Linked DNA regions of Homo sapiens: all the other regions are linked to region 1. Evidence: promoter capture Hi-C in 16 types of primary human blood cells and fetal thymus (Javierre and others, 2016). All regions are on one chromosome and are shown on one strand. Each heading gives the region's core, a stretch centred on a gene start or on the middle of the fragment in contact. The rest is flanking DNA. Distances are from core to core; before and after follow the strand shown. Region 1 holds the start of PRRG3 (proline rich and Gla domain 3). Region 2 has its middle 37 kb from the start of MIR4330. Region 3 holds the start of GPR50 (G protein-coupled receptor 50).

What was found. The method cuts DNA at HindIII sites, captures the fragments that hold promoters and counts their contacts. A CHiCAGO score of 5 or more calls a contact.
Region 2: a contact is called between a fragment that was not itself captured here and the fragment with the promoter of PRRG3 in region 1, in 3 of 17 cell types (M0 macrophages, M1 macrophages and M2 macrophages). The highest score is 7.4, in M0 macrophages.
Region 3: the fragment with the promoter of GPR50 here is called in contact with the fragment with the promoter of PRRG3 in region 1 in 7 of 17 cell types (M1 macrophages, M2 macrophages, naive CD8 T cells and 4 more); the score reaches 7.9 in M1 macrophages.

What each region holds. Positions count from the first base shown.
Region 1 is chrX:151,693,251-151,697,794 of GRCh38, reverse strand. PRRG3 (proline rich and Gla domain 3) reads right to left here and starts at 2,337. Exons shown (of 4, transcript NM_001372163.1): 1 at 2,251-2,337. The HindIII fragment of the contact is 4,373 bases long and covers 1,776-4,544 here.
Region 2 is chrX:151,129,317-151,133,860 of GRCh38, reverse strand. No RefSeq gene overlaps it. Among named protein-coding and RNA genes, the nearest start is that of MIR4330, 37 kb to the left of the region's middle. The HindIII fragment of the contact is 2,225 bases long and covers 1,616-3,840 here.
Region 3 is chrX:151,174,288-151,178,831 of GRCh38, reverse strand. It overlaps GPR50 (G protein-coupled receptor 50), which reads right to left and starts at 2,248. Exons shown (of 2, transcript NM_004224.3): 1 at 1,924-2,248. The coding sequence starts at 2,110. It overlaps GPR50-AS1 (GPR50 antisense RNA 1), which reads left to right and starts at 996. Exons shown (of 3, transcript NR_135300.1): 1 at 996-1,455; 2 at 1,957-2,037; 3 at 2,562-3,634. RefSeq lists enhancers at 2,615-3,583, 3,584-4,544. The HindIII fragment of the contact is 16,411 bases long and covers 1-4,544 here.

The sequences.
Region 1 (4,544 bases), core at 1,088-3,587:
AGAGCCCTTGCTGAGCTGTCCACATCTGGGAGCAATCACCCCACTGCTCCCCTCCCCAAGCAGAAGCTCTGGTTTGATGACTAACTGGATGCAAGACACGTGAACTGTGGAATCCATTGAGCCCTCCTTTTTGCCTAGGCTGCCAGGAAGTTCAGCGTCACTATTGCCAGTCAAGCACAGGCACCCTGGAAGCCCAGCTGTTAAGCACATATGCTTCTGTCCTGCGATGTGGTATACAGCTTTCTATTTATGTTTCCAGTGTCCTATTGTGCATTTATAATATGCCACCTAATCCTTTTGGCAAACAGGTAGGATATAAATCAATAATTTAGGCTGGTCGCGGTGGCTCATGCCTATAATCCCAACACTTTGGGAGGCTGAGGCGGGCGGATCACCTCAGGTCAGGAGTTTGGGACTGGCTTGACCAAAAAATGGTGAAACCCCATCTCTACTACAAATACAAAAATTAGTTAGGCATGCTGCGGTGCATGCCTGTAGTCCCAGCTACTCTGGAGGCTGAGACAGGGGAATCGCTTGAACCAGAGAGGCGGAGATTGAAGTGAGCTGAGATTGCGCCACTGCACTCCAGCCTGGGTTACAAAGCCAGAAAGAAAGAAAGAGAGAAAGAGAGAAAGAGAGGGAGAGAGGGAGAGAGGGAGGGAGAGAGGGAGGGAGGGAGGAAGGAAGGGAGGGAGGGAGGAAGGAAGGAAGGAAGGAGAAGGGAAGGGAAGGAGGAAGGAAAGAAGGAGAAGGGAAGGGGAGGGAGGAAGGAAGGAAGAAAGAAAGAAAGAGAGAAAGAAAGAGAGAAAGAGAGAAAAGAAAGAAAAGAAAATTAAAGGTAAAACAGCAGATCTGACATCTATTTGTGGAAACGCCACATCAAGGGGCTTTCTCTTTTGAACCCTGCAACAATCTCCCTCAAAACTATCAACATGTGAATTTGTCAACAGATGGCCTGCCTTGTGAGACAGTTGGCCCTCAATGTTTGTCAGAACCAAGATGGAATATGATCTCAAAATTCTGCTTGCATTATGGATACCTGAGCTTTATGTGGTGAGGGTGTGGATATAGTATGCCTCATGGCAAGGATTTTTTGCTTGAAGAAAAATGGAGCTGTTGTATCTGGGTTTGAGAAGAATGCATATAGTCTTAATAAGGGAAGAGAGAAAAATATGCTTATCAAAGGAAACTGCAGTGGTTTTTTAAAAAAATGGAGAAAAATTTACATAATAGATTACATATATCCATCTTTTGTCCCCCACACACCTAGCCTTGGTCAAAGGTGGCTATATGTCACACCTATCATAGACCCGAATACATGTTATCCTGACGCACCTGCTAAAGTCACCAGTTCATTTTTAAGCTTCAGTCGAGCCAGGAACACCCCCAAAACAGTTCCCATGGCATGGCCCACTCCATTAGCAATTCTGTAGCCACCTTCACTGCTGCTGCTGCCTGCCACGAGGCCTCTTCCCCCTCCCTCCCCAAAATGTAGCGCCTGCTTCTTCCCCTATAAATACACCATCAGTAGACAGTTACTATGGCAACAATAAGGAAGCAATCGTGAGGGCTCCACGACAAAGAATGATGCTGCAGCCACACATGTATATGTCCCCCATGCCCCTGGTGGATACTGTAAAGCTGACTGTAGGCGGAAGGAATTTTTAACCCACTCCCCGCAGGAACACAGCTGAATCCTGACAGCCTGGAAAGGAAGGAAGGCAGGGAACTGGCCACCACAAAGACCTTGCTTAACTCCACCCCAGACTGAAGCTTCTGAATCTCAGGCCTCTGGGACACAACTCCCAAAGTCCCTCACATGAAGCCTGGTGACCACCAGAGCACCTGGTGTCCCAAGACATGGCCTCCAAACCACTTCTCCAAACCCTAGACTTTATTTCCATCCCTCAGAACTGATCGCCAGGAAAGGGTTCTCCAAATCGCATGACTCATCGACCCACCCAGTGACACGACAACTCCCAAATTATGCTCAAACTCAAACTCTGGGGCCCCCTTGTCCCTTTCCACTCAGGCCAGCCCTGAAAGTGCCTGTCCTCGCCCACCTTCGCTGGACACCAGCGCCCTGACCCAGCAACACTCTTCTCCCGGAGCTGTTCAATACGCCCCATCCCCTTGGCCCGGACAGGCCTCTAGATCTTCCCTCCTCAACAATGCCCTGCACCCAGCTCGTTGGCCCTGGATACCGAACCGTGCCCTCGGGACTGGGACACCCAACCCAAATGGCCTCACCGTTCTCCGGGCCCAGAAGGCGGCCGCCCTGTTTGCGCACGCAGCCCGCCACCTCGCTGCTGCGCCTCTTCCAGCAGGGGCCCTGTCCCCGCCCACCTGCTCCCCGTCGGCCAAGCCCCCCGGTCCGGCCCAGCCGTCTCCTCCCTCCCTTCCTCCCCTCCCCGCTGCCCTCCCACCGCCCCGGGCACCCTGTCGCCCGCCCCTCCAGGGCCGAAGTGCGCCTGGAACCCCCGCCCCTCGCAGCCGGGCGCCCAGGCCCGGCCCATTACCTCGGCACCCCCCTGCCTGCCCCTGCTTTCCTCTGGGGGCTCCGCAGCTGCCCGCCCCCCACACCCCGCCGTTCCAGGGCTGGCCTCGCGCCCCGCGCCTCGCGCGCCACGACCGCAGTGCCCCGATCGCCAGGCCGCAATCGTCGCGCTGCCCCGCGCACCGGGCCGCCGGCCGCCTGGCCGAGTGGAGGAAGGAGGGGTGGGGGCGACGGAGTGGGCCGAGGGGGTTGGGAGAGCGGGCGGGCAAGCCGGGCCGGAGGGGCGGCGGCGCGCACCGAGCACCGCGCGCCCGCGCCCCACTCTGCCGGCGCCGCCCCTGCCCCCGCCCGTGCCGCCGGGGGGCGGGGCCTGACTGGCGGGCCTGGGGCACACAGAGGACCCTTGGTCAAAGCCCTGGTCCAGTCGTGACCCAAGGCGTGGGCCCTCGGAAGATACGGCGTAGCAGGGAGCTCCGGCGGCCGCTCCCAAGGCCCGCGCGCCAGGCGTCCCTGCGCAGCCCAACCCGCGTCCTGTCCCCACCCCCCGGGCTCACCTGCCATTCAGGCCCGCCGGGCTCCTGGGGCCAACGAAAAGAGAGGGGGGCTAGCCTGCAACCTAGGCCTGCCTTGCCAGGGATCCACAGGGCCCTCAGAAGAAGGACCGAGTCGAGGCCGCGTTCCGCCAATGACTGGGTGACCTTGGCTTCTTCACTTACCTACCCCCACCCTGCCCCGGGAAGGCAGGCTTCTCTCCTGCAAAGTCCGAGAAATGGGGAGAATTCTGCCTCCCTCGCGAGGCTGCAGCGATTTGAAGGAGGAAATGGGTTTGGAAAACTCTAAGGCTCAGTAAGGGGAGAAGGAATCTTCTGCGACTGCAAGGAGCGCTAGATGGGGGCTCCTTCGGAGGCCGCACTGTGAGAAGTTCAGCATGGCAGGACAAGACGCATAGCAGAGATTACACTAGTCCAGGAGGAACCACATGACAGGTCCACTGCTAAGAGAGGGGCAAAGGGGTTCCGGGTGGGCTGAGGTTCTGGGTCTAGGAAAGCCTCCCTCGGAGAAGGGGATGCTGGGTTTTTAGGGTTCCTTTTTGTTCTCTGCACATCTAGAACCCGGCCAGGCACTGGGGTTGGCGTCCTCTTCCTCCCTCCACCCCAAGTGTTGCTTTTGATGGGAATGAGTCTCAGAAGGCGGTTCCAGAACCACTCCCACCCCTATCCCAGGGCGGGTATTAGCAACCTGCCTTGCCAGGGGGCGGAAGAGGGGTGGGCGAAGGCCTTCATTGCCACCGGCCGCCTCCCCTCCAACCCCCAGGGCCTGGCTCCCCTAGCTCCCCCGATGCCTGCCTCTACACTTCTCTCCCCGCATGGTGCTTTCCCTTCCATTTCTGCCTCCTGTTAGAGTTCTTCCCTAGCTTGCTTGCTATTTCACGGCTGCAGGAATCTTCCTTACCCACGACAGCTCTTCTATGGCCTTCCCCCCATGCCTCCGGAGCCTGTGGGGCAGAATTCCACAGACTCTTCTGGAACTAACCTCTTGAGTTTCCTAGCCCACCAGCATGTTCCCATCGTGATCTTAACACCGCATAGACCCTTGTGCACTTGACTGTTAAAAAAGCAGCTCTTCCAGTATGTGCACAAGGGTCTATGGCTTCTGCCCTCCTTCTGGCACTCCCACTTTAGCTTCTGGCTCCAGCCACATGAGGCTACTTCTACTTCCCACTGCCCAGAATGCCTTTCCTCCCACTGTGGACCTGGAGCACTTGCATTCATTCTTCCCACACAGTGCGCATGACATCTCTACTGTGAGGTCTTGCAGGATCCTTCCTGCACCCCAGTCCGCCATTCCACTCTCAGGACTATCTGCAGAGACTATGAACATGGGGGCCTCGGTGGATAGCAAGGTGGGGGAGGAGGAATAGCAGTGCCTCTGGAGCGTAGTGCCTGCTGCACCTCTTGGTGGTACTACATAGTAGGCTCTATTATCTCCAGCAAGTGTTTGACCTCTCTGCATCTCGGTTTCCTTACCTTTCAGATGAGAATGATGC
Region 2 (4,544 bases), core at 1,479-3,978, 560 kb after region 1:
TCACTAAAATGCTACCAATTAGATATGTGCAAGGAGTAACCTAATCACTTTATTTTTTGGTAATTTTATACTTTTTTTTGAGACAGAGTCTCACTCTGTTGCCCAGGATGGAGTGCAGTGGCATGATCTTGGCTCACTACAACCTCTGCCTCCCAGGTTCAAGTGATGCTGCCTCAGCCTCCCAAGTAGCTGGGATTACAGACATAAACCACCACACATGGCTAATTTTTGTATTTTTAGTAGAGACGGGGTTTTGCCATGTTGGCCAGGCTGGTCTCAAACTCCTGACCTCAAGTGATCCACCCACCTTGGCCTCCCAAAGTGCTGGGATTACAGGCATGAGCCACTTGTGCCCGGCCAATATAATGTTTTTAATAATCTTGTGCATGAAACAAGGTTTGTGTATATAGAACCATCAGAAAGCAAAGGTGTCACTATCTCAGCCATCCATGTGGATAATCTGTGGTTGTTTGGCATCCATTATTCCTAACTCTGAATTTATATGCTACGAATAAGCAATCACTTTCTTACACTTGTTTACACACAAGTACTTAACAGTAAAAAATATGACATATCATTCATACAGTGAAAACATAATGTGTTCAAGTAACTAAGCAGCACAGTAGCACCACCAGAATTCCTGTGTCAGCTGTTCAACAACAGCAACAACATACAATACCACATTTTCAATCTCCACGTATGATGCTGTGTTTCCATTAAAATGGGTACTGTACACTGTATTTTATTTTTTAGGTGAGAAGAAATACCACAAGCAGTGGAGAAACCAGGAAGTAGGCCCTTTAGGGATGAGGAGGCATTCTGCTAGATGACTTTTTAAAGTGTTTCCTCCAGAGTAATTTGTCTCATTAACAACAGTTTTTCTCTTCTTGATTTTATAAACTGACATGATTTCTTATTTCTTATTTGTTATGAATGCATACTGCTCTAGTCCTCCAATAAGCCCATCATACATTTTCACCATATCATCTAAAGGCACTTTTTCTGCAGTGTTAATAATGTCATCTTCATCATTGCTATGATCATATCACCTTTATTCAGGATCATGTTGACTCTTCCACCACTGGTTAATGAATGAAAAACTGGATTGTTCATCATTACTGAGCATAATCACAGGCCAGAGGTTGTGCCAGGCATGCACGGCTGTGTCCTTAGTCACTGTTTTCCAAGCATTAGTAACAGTATATATGGTATCATTTATGCCCAACTCCTTTTAAAAACCTTCCACACCCATACCTTTCTTCATTGCTACTAGCATGCTGTTCGATAAAGTTTTTTTTTTAAATATTTACTCTTCAGTGAGTTAAGGATACCCCAGTCACATGGCTGAGTTAATAGAGTCACATTTGGGGGAAATACATGGTATAAACATTATTTTTAATGAGAATTTCAGCTGAGGAACGAGCAAAACAATTGTCAAGGAATAACTAAATCTTGCAATGGTCACCCAGTCCAGCTTCCCTGAAGTGAGCACAAGCTGCTGGTACAAATTGTGAAACCAATCAGAAAAGGCATCGCTAGCGATCCATGCCTTATTGTTAGCATAATAATGGACTTAAAAGAAATTCACTCCTTGAAAACAACAAAAATGCAAGCTTTTGCCTACCACAGTAAGCTGACAGTTATGTGTGCCTGTGGCATTAGCACATTCTAGCACAGTTATTCTGTCCTTGGCATCTTTAACTCCTGCAGGGGCTGTCTCCTCCTCTGTAGTCAGTGTATTTCTGGGGCAGTGGTTTGAAGTGCTGCAGGCAGTAACTACTGGAGACCAAATCACAGTGTTTTAATTTGTGACATGTTAGAGAGAATAATAGGACTTTCTGCAGTATTAGTAAACTGAAGCACTAATTTCTAAATGTTCTTTTTTTATGTCTTTAAATGTTTCATTAAACATTGGCTTCTGTTTTTAGCATAAATGCATATATTATACTCGATCATTTATATTGTAGATAGAAACTTATTTTACAGCAAAGTAGTCTGTCTGCATATTATGGGTAGAGTGCCCCTTTATTGTAATTTTATTTCTATATTGCTTTTAAAGCCTTTTGATGATCACTTTTGGTTAAATGAATAACTGTTATTTTACAATGACCTGTGATTCTGTTTTAATAAAACGTTTCAAGTCTTTTAATTTCTTTGATAAGCATCCTATTAACTAATCCTTGTGCTGTTAAGTTACAGGGTCTTGACTCCTGGGTCTGAAAAAGGTGCCGATACCTGCTAAATCTTGAACATTGACACCAGTCAAAGCCTCATCTTTAGACCCAGGAGAAGGCAGCAATCAAAATGAACTGCTTTCATGAGACACAGGGCCAGGAATTAAAACTATCCAATCCATCTAGGCCCAGGAACTATTGCAGAAGGGGGGCAGGCACATGAGATTGTAAGGGCCAATTTTGACAAATAAAATTAGTTATGTATGTTCTTTTGTGGTGGTTGTATGTGTCCTTATGTAACCTTCAAAAGATCTCACTGTTCTAGGCCGATGCTGAACATACAACTCAGCTTGGCGGGCAGGGGTGCAGGGAACTGGGCTTCCATTCTTAAATGGCAAAGGAAATTCCTTTGATTCATAAGCAATTCTGTAACCTTACTTTTTGGCTTTTAGTTTTTGGCTATTATGTTGCTTAAAGGGTTTTAAGTGTTAATGAGTGCCTGCCCCCCTCCATTCTTGTCTGGTCTACAGTGTTTAATTGGCTGTTAGTCTTTTGACTCTATGTCCCTTGGCTATAGAGGTCCCACTGAGGGATGAGATGGACCTAAAACATGTAGCCACACCACCTTGGCAACACTATGGGACAAAATAAATTCCTAAGCCCCCCATTGACTGAGTAGGCCCACTTGTGGCCAAGGGGACCCCAGTTGCCAAGAGATAAATCTTAACTGGGAAAAGGTCTTGTCCCTTGCCCTGCTGAGGATGTGGGTAGCCCCTAAAAGTGGATTGGCTTTTAGAGCCTCCAAAATGTATGGAAGACCATTTCTCTAACCTCCAGACTCCTTGACACTTTAGTATTTTTCCTCCTCTGACACAGAAGCTAGGTCATATATAAAACAATTAGGAAATATATTAACTAGTCTCTAAGTTTGCTTCCAACAGGCTTCAGTTCCCTAGAGATGTACCTCTCCACTTTTTGAAACTGGGAGATCCCAAGTCCTGCTGAAGACCTGGAAATCCCACCAAGCTGTAGATGAGCTGCAACCACAATGGGTCAGCCCTTTGGAGGTGCTGCTGATCACTCACTCATCTGTCAAGTTAGCTGGTGCTAAGTCGTGGATTCACTATACTCGGGTAAAACCAGTCCCTCTGGAATCTCTCCCAGGGAATCAGTCATGGTCTTGTGAACCCTCAGATGGCCTTAATATCTAAAGTCCAGTGAAAGACCCTAGTTAAAAAATCATAAAGGGAACATGTAGCTTTCGCGATTATTTTATTGGATTCCCCAAGGGATCCACTCCATATCCTTTGGTGTTTTAAAATTTAGGTTATCCATGTTATTAATCATCCTAGTCAATGTGACTTAAAATGTTGTTCTAAAACCATTAAAGTATCCAGGTCCTGGTGTTCCAACAAGTCAGATGCTGACCAGGTACTTATGAATACTTCCAATTACAGGGGTAACATTTTCATTCCTCATCAGTATCATATAATGCCCTTCCTCAGCATAAAGCAGTCAGAAAGATCAACCACCAGATTCCCCATGATTGAGGAACTGATAAGTAGAAATAGAGGACTGAAACCGGCCAATTGTCTCACAGAACTGGTGTTTACCGTCTTTTGGATAAACATAGAAATTTGAAATTGACCCTCTTGGTCTTAAAGCTTGAAATCTGCATTTGTCTTATCTGAGTTCCCTCCTCAGGAAACCAACCCTCAGGCCTCCCAGATAGTTCAAAGAATATAAATTCACCACATCACTACATCCAAACAATGAGATGCCAGACCCCTCATCCATCATGATTCCTGTTTACCAACTCTTCTTCCTTAACCCCTTCTTCCTGTTTTCCCATATGTAGTTACATTTTTTTCCCTGCTATATAAACCTCTAATTTTAGTCAATTGAGGAGATGAATTTGAGACTGACCTCCCATCTCCTCAGCTGCAGCACCTGAATAAATCCTTCTTCCCTGGCAATACTCAACTCAGTGATTGGCTTTCTCTGCAGCCAGCAACAGGACCTAGACCAAACCCCTGCTGTTTTGGTAACAAATTGCTGCAATCTCATGATAAAACTTAAATGGATGAGGCATTGCTTCTAATGGATGAGCAAAGAATGGTTTATTGAGATGGAAACTACTTCTGGTAAAGATGTTGTGAACATTGTTGAAATGACAACACAGGATTTAGAATATTACATAAACTTAGTTGATAAAGCAGCAGCAGAATTTGAAAGGATTTACTCCAATTTTGAAAAAAGTTTTACTGTGGTGGGTAAAATGCTATCAAGCAGCATTGCATGCTACAAAGAAACCTTGCATGAAAGGAAGAGTCCATTGATGCAGCAAAGTTCATTGTTGTGTTATTTTAA
Region 3 (4,544 bases), core at 999-3,498, 520 kb after region 1:
TGTAAAACCTTTCACAAAAAAGAGAAGGAAGAGGCCAGGTGCAGGCGCAGAGCCCTCTTTCTTTGGAGACACCTCGTTGCTAATTAGCATTGGTTTGGCAAAATATTGCACTTCATCTTGGACTAGGAGAAAATGAGCGCTTTTGAAAAGGGCAAAGGTATGGCTCCTTCTTCCTCCTTCCTCCAGCGCTGTCAGCACTCGGCCTCAGCACTTTCTACCGAAGAGGTTCTTTCTATGGTTTTCCGGCAGAGTAATGAATTCAGGGAAATACAGCCGAAAAGAGAAGGGGCAAAGCCTTAAAAACAAAACCACAACAACCATAAAAGCCTTTATTTGAATTATAGAAGGAAGGAAGGAGAAGGAGAAAAAGAAAGAAAAGAAATCTAAAGGGAATAAAATGGGCTTCGCAGGTCGCCCCCAGGATTCCGTGGGTTTGCACCTCGGGACCGCACCGCGGGGGTGAAGGTGAAGACCTAGTGTATGGCCCCACGATTCCAGGAGACGAAGGAGAAATCGGAGACACCCACCAGACTTTGTAAGAAAACTTTTAATGACTGTGTGCCAGTCAGTGCGTTTTTAAACTTGTTCAGTGTTCGTGACTCCTTGCCCAAGCAAAGTAATCCCCCAGACCCCGGCCGCCACCTCTCCCCCACGCCCTGCCCGGGAGAATCCAGCTGGTCTCCCCACCCTCTCAGACCCCCTTCGGTCCCCACTCCTAGCCCCAGCCGATCGAGAATCTGGCGGTGGAAATTCCAGGCGCCGCCCCTCCCTCCCCCGGCCTGAACTCGGAGTTTGGGCGCCTTTGCCCCTTCCCCTCCCTTCCAGAGCCCTCTCCCGCCCAACCTGTAAGCCGGACTAGCTGCTCTGCAGTGTCTGCCGCCCCCACCCCCAGCACAGGTCGCAGCGCCCGGCATCCTCCCACGCTTCCCTCCTGCCCTGCTCGCCGCCGGCCCCCGGCCCCCGGCCTCCTCCCGCTCGGCAGTGGCTAGCAGCGGGGGAAGTCCCGCCTGCGGCTCCCAGACCCCAGCCCTTTGCAGCCTCTCTGAGTCCCCCATCGCCGCCTCTGAGCTCTCCCGTCGCCCTCCCGCCAATCCCTACTCGGTTTTGCTGCCTTCTATCCCTCCACCCCCAGCAACGCCCAGCTCCCAAGCCTCTTGGCCGGCCCGCCCTGCGACCCCCCAGTTCCCCGCTTACGGACCTTGGGATCTCCGCTGCCGCCGCCGTCGCTGCCACCGCCTGCTGTGCCCGACCCGCCGCTTGCCTCTCTCTGCCGTTCGCCCTGGGACGGGCGGACGGAGCTCGGCTCCGGCGGGCTCAGACCTCCCTGCTCGATTCTCGGGCGCGGGGGTCTGTGCTCCGCCGCCCGGGATCTGCCCGGGAGCCGTCCTGGAGCCCCAGGGCCGCGGCGAGCGGGCTCTTGGCCCGGCTAGGGAGAGGCCACTGCGTTGCGCTCTGGTAAGGGCCGCCGCGGCCGCCGCGAACTTAACTTTCACAGAGCAGGTCGCAGCCCCGCTGCTCCCTCCGCGTCAGTTCGGTCCGCGCTGCCTCAGCGCGGCCGCCCTTGCGGCGTCCGGCTCGGCTTGCTGTCCCCGGGCGAATCGCCTGACTCTCCCGCTCGGGTGCCGGCTCCCTCCGCATCAGGCCCCGACGGGACAGGGATCCTCGGGCTGCCGCGCACCACGGGAACGCTTTGTACTTGGATGCCCAAAGCTAATTCTCTGTGCTCTCTCGGCCTTGAGAACCTCCACGTTTAGAGGGCCGGGACAGAATACTACCACCCCCAGGCTTGCGGGGAATTTGGGAGCAGGGATGTTCAATATGAGGGCACTGTCCATAGATTCTCTATTCGGGGAGCTCAAAAACTAACGCCCTAGGGGTTGCAAGTCTCTGCACACTGGGTAGGGAGAAGAAGGGGTGGCTTACCAGAATTCCGGAGCTTCTTGTTCTTCGTCACAGCCAAAATGACCATGGAGTTGCCGATTAGGTCTACAACGATGGTGATAACCATCGCGCAGAACATAAAGATGATTAGAGCCGGTGGGTATTCTGGCTGGGGTAGCTTACAGCCAATACAGCCATAGGGGGTGGGAACCGCTAGGGTGGGCCCCATGTTGCTCCTGGGGATCGTTAAGATCTCCCAGCAGGCTCAGGATCAGCAGCCAGGTCCAGACAGCAAACACCTGTTCTGTCACCAGGAGCTCCAGGAAAGCGTGCCTCCCTCTCTGAGAGTCAGAGAGCAAATGACAGCATCCCGCCCCTCTCCGATGAGCTTTTAAAGCCTCAAGAGGCGGCTAGCCCCACCCCAAATCCCTCCCCCCGACCAATCAGACCTCCCTGAATACCCCCCCCTTGGCTACCCCCTCTTATTGGACAAATCCACATTGAGGTGTCATCTTGCTTCCGACTGCCTTGTATGTACTTCCTCTCTAGCCAGCCTGCCCTGCCTCTCAATCTCCCAGGTACCTTGCAAGCATCATGACTAGCTCGGAGTCCACCCCACACCCCCTCCACCAGCCCCTGTGCATTCGTTTCTAGCAAGTTCTTCTCCCTCTCTCCTCCAGTGCAAACACCTGGCAAAGAGATGTAGATTGCAGAGCCGGAGCACAGAGTCTTTCATAGGATCCAGTGCTAGACCAAGCCAGTCCACAGCCCCCAGCAGGGTATAGGGGATAGCCGGTGGCCCCTTGAACGCTAGATGCTTGCCTCTGCAAGTATCCTTGTGAGGTCCATCCCACGCCCCATGCCCTTGCCTGTCTAGAGCCTTCTGTGTCCCGCGGGGAACAGGGGACTACTGCTGGGAGCTCCCACCCCCAATCTGGGTCCCTAATCCCTAGGGAACTTAACCCCGCTCCCTTTCTCGCCAGGAGCCTCTTGGCTCCCTTAGCGGCAGCTGCGAGTAGCCGCTCAGTCCGGTCCAGGTCTTGCACTCTCCATAAAGAGATGTACCCTGCGCCCGACTCTGGAAGTGGGGAGCGGGTCTGCACCCTGGGACCTAGGGAAGGCATTGGTGGCCACTCGGTCCTCAGTTTGGGGGCGAACGGGAGCGGGAGCTCGTCTCCTTTCCAGCTGCCGGCAGCCAGGCGGCGGAAGCCAAGGGACGCTTTGGGAAAAAGTAAAACAGGCAATAAAGCTCTTCTCTTGGGTCCCCGCTTCTCAAGGAAACTCAGGACGAGAGGCTCTGACGCCTCTCCCTCTCGGGATGCTCGGCATTCTCTACTGAGCGGCACGGGGCAGTCAGGAAGGCTGAAGGAGCTGCGCCGCAGCCGCGGGAAAGGTGCGGAGGTGTCACGCGGCTAAACCAAGAAGCCTCTGGCTGACCGGCGATCCCTGCCTCAGTCAGGATTCCTCTCGGTCTTTCTCCTTTCCCATGCCCTTCTGGGGTTCTCGTTTCGACCCCATCCCTCTCAGGCCTCCCCCCTCGCCCTCCACACCGCGGATCTCTGTCCCCGTGCGTCACAGTTCCCCTGCGGTGCGCCCAGGATCTCGCTCCGCGGGGACCACGGAAAATTCGAATATTCGGGCAAAACTAAAGGGGCGTGATTCGGACACTCGTTCCCTCAATAACCTTGGTCACGGGAATGGATTTCTGCCGGCTACTAAAAGTTACGGCTCCTGTCGAGAAGCCTTTCAAAATCTCAGTAAACACCTTGAAACTTGTTCCAGACTAGTCTTCTTGCCACAGTAGGGGAGAGGGGTTGCACTGGCCGGGAGCGCCATCGTCTGGACACAGCAGCCCTCTTGCCCCGGGGTGGGTGGGGGGACGGACAAGGCGGGGTAGGTAGTAGGGGCCTGTTACGCGACGAACTTCAACATTCAGATACCTTTAACGAAAAAAACAGACACTGTTGAAAACCAAGATTGCACACACTGTCTCTAGCTATAAAGCCTAAACTGGAAATGTGTCTCCTTGTTTGAAAATGAAGCCCCCACCCCAATCCTGCGGCTTTCGCGTCTGTGAACTGAATCCGGCGCGAATTACAATCTCCCGCCTGGAGGCTTTTCACATTCATTATCTCACTGCCCCTCGCTGGCTGGAACTCCCGGCCGCGCGCGCTCGCATTTTTTTCCGTAAGTGCAGACAGTGAAGGGGCTCCGCTGTCCTCCCCACACAGCTGTGCGCCCTGTAAAGAGGCTGTCAGTCAAAAGCCCGTCCGCGCAGTGGAGTATTTTGTAGGATGCACATCAGGCTGTTCTTGCTGGTTCCCCGAGAGTTTGGATCCCTTCACTTGTGGGAAGGGGCGATTTTGAATTCAAATAAGTAAACAAAATACATTTGAAGGAAAAAACGAAACACACCTTCTAGTGACTTAAGACACTAGACTCCCCCTGCCCCAAACAAACCTGTAAGGAGAGCTTGCAAACCTTGCAGGCATTGCTACACTCCAGTGTACTGCACTTCTGAGATGAGGTGGCTAGAGCCCCCGGGAATTCCCCGCGGATGTGGCCTGAACATCCCTGGGATTGAGGAGCAGGCAGGAGAGCAAGGGTGAGCTGACTCCCTGGCCCCTACCCCTGCTTGGACACTACTTGACTGTGACCTGGTG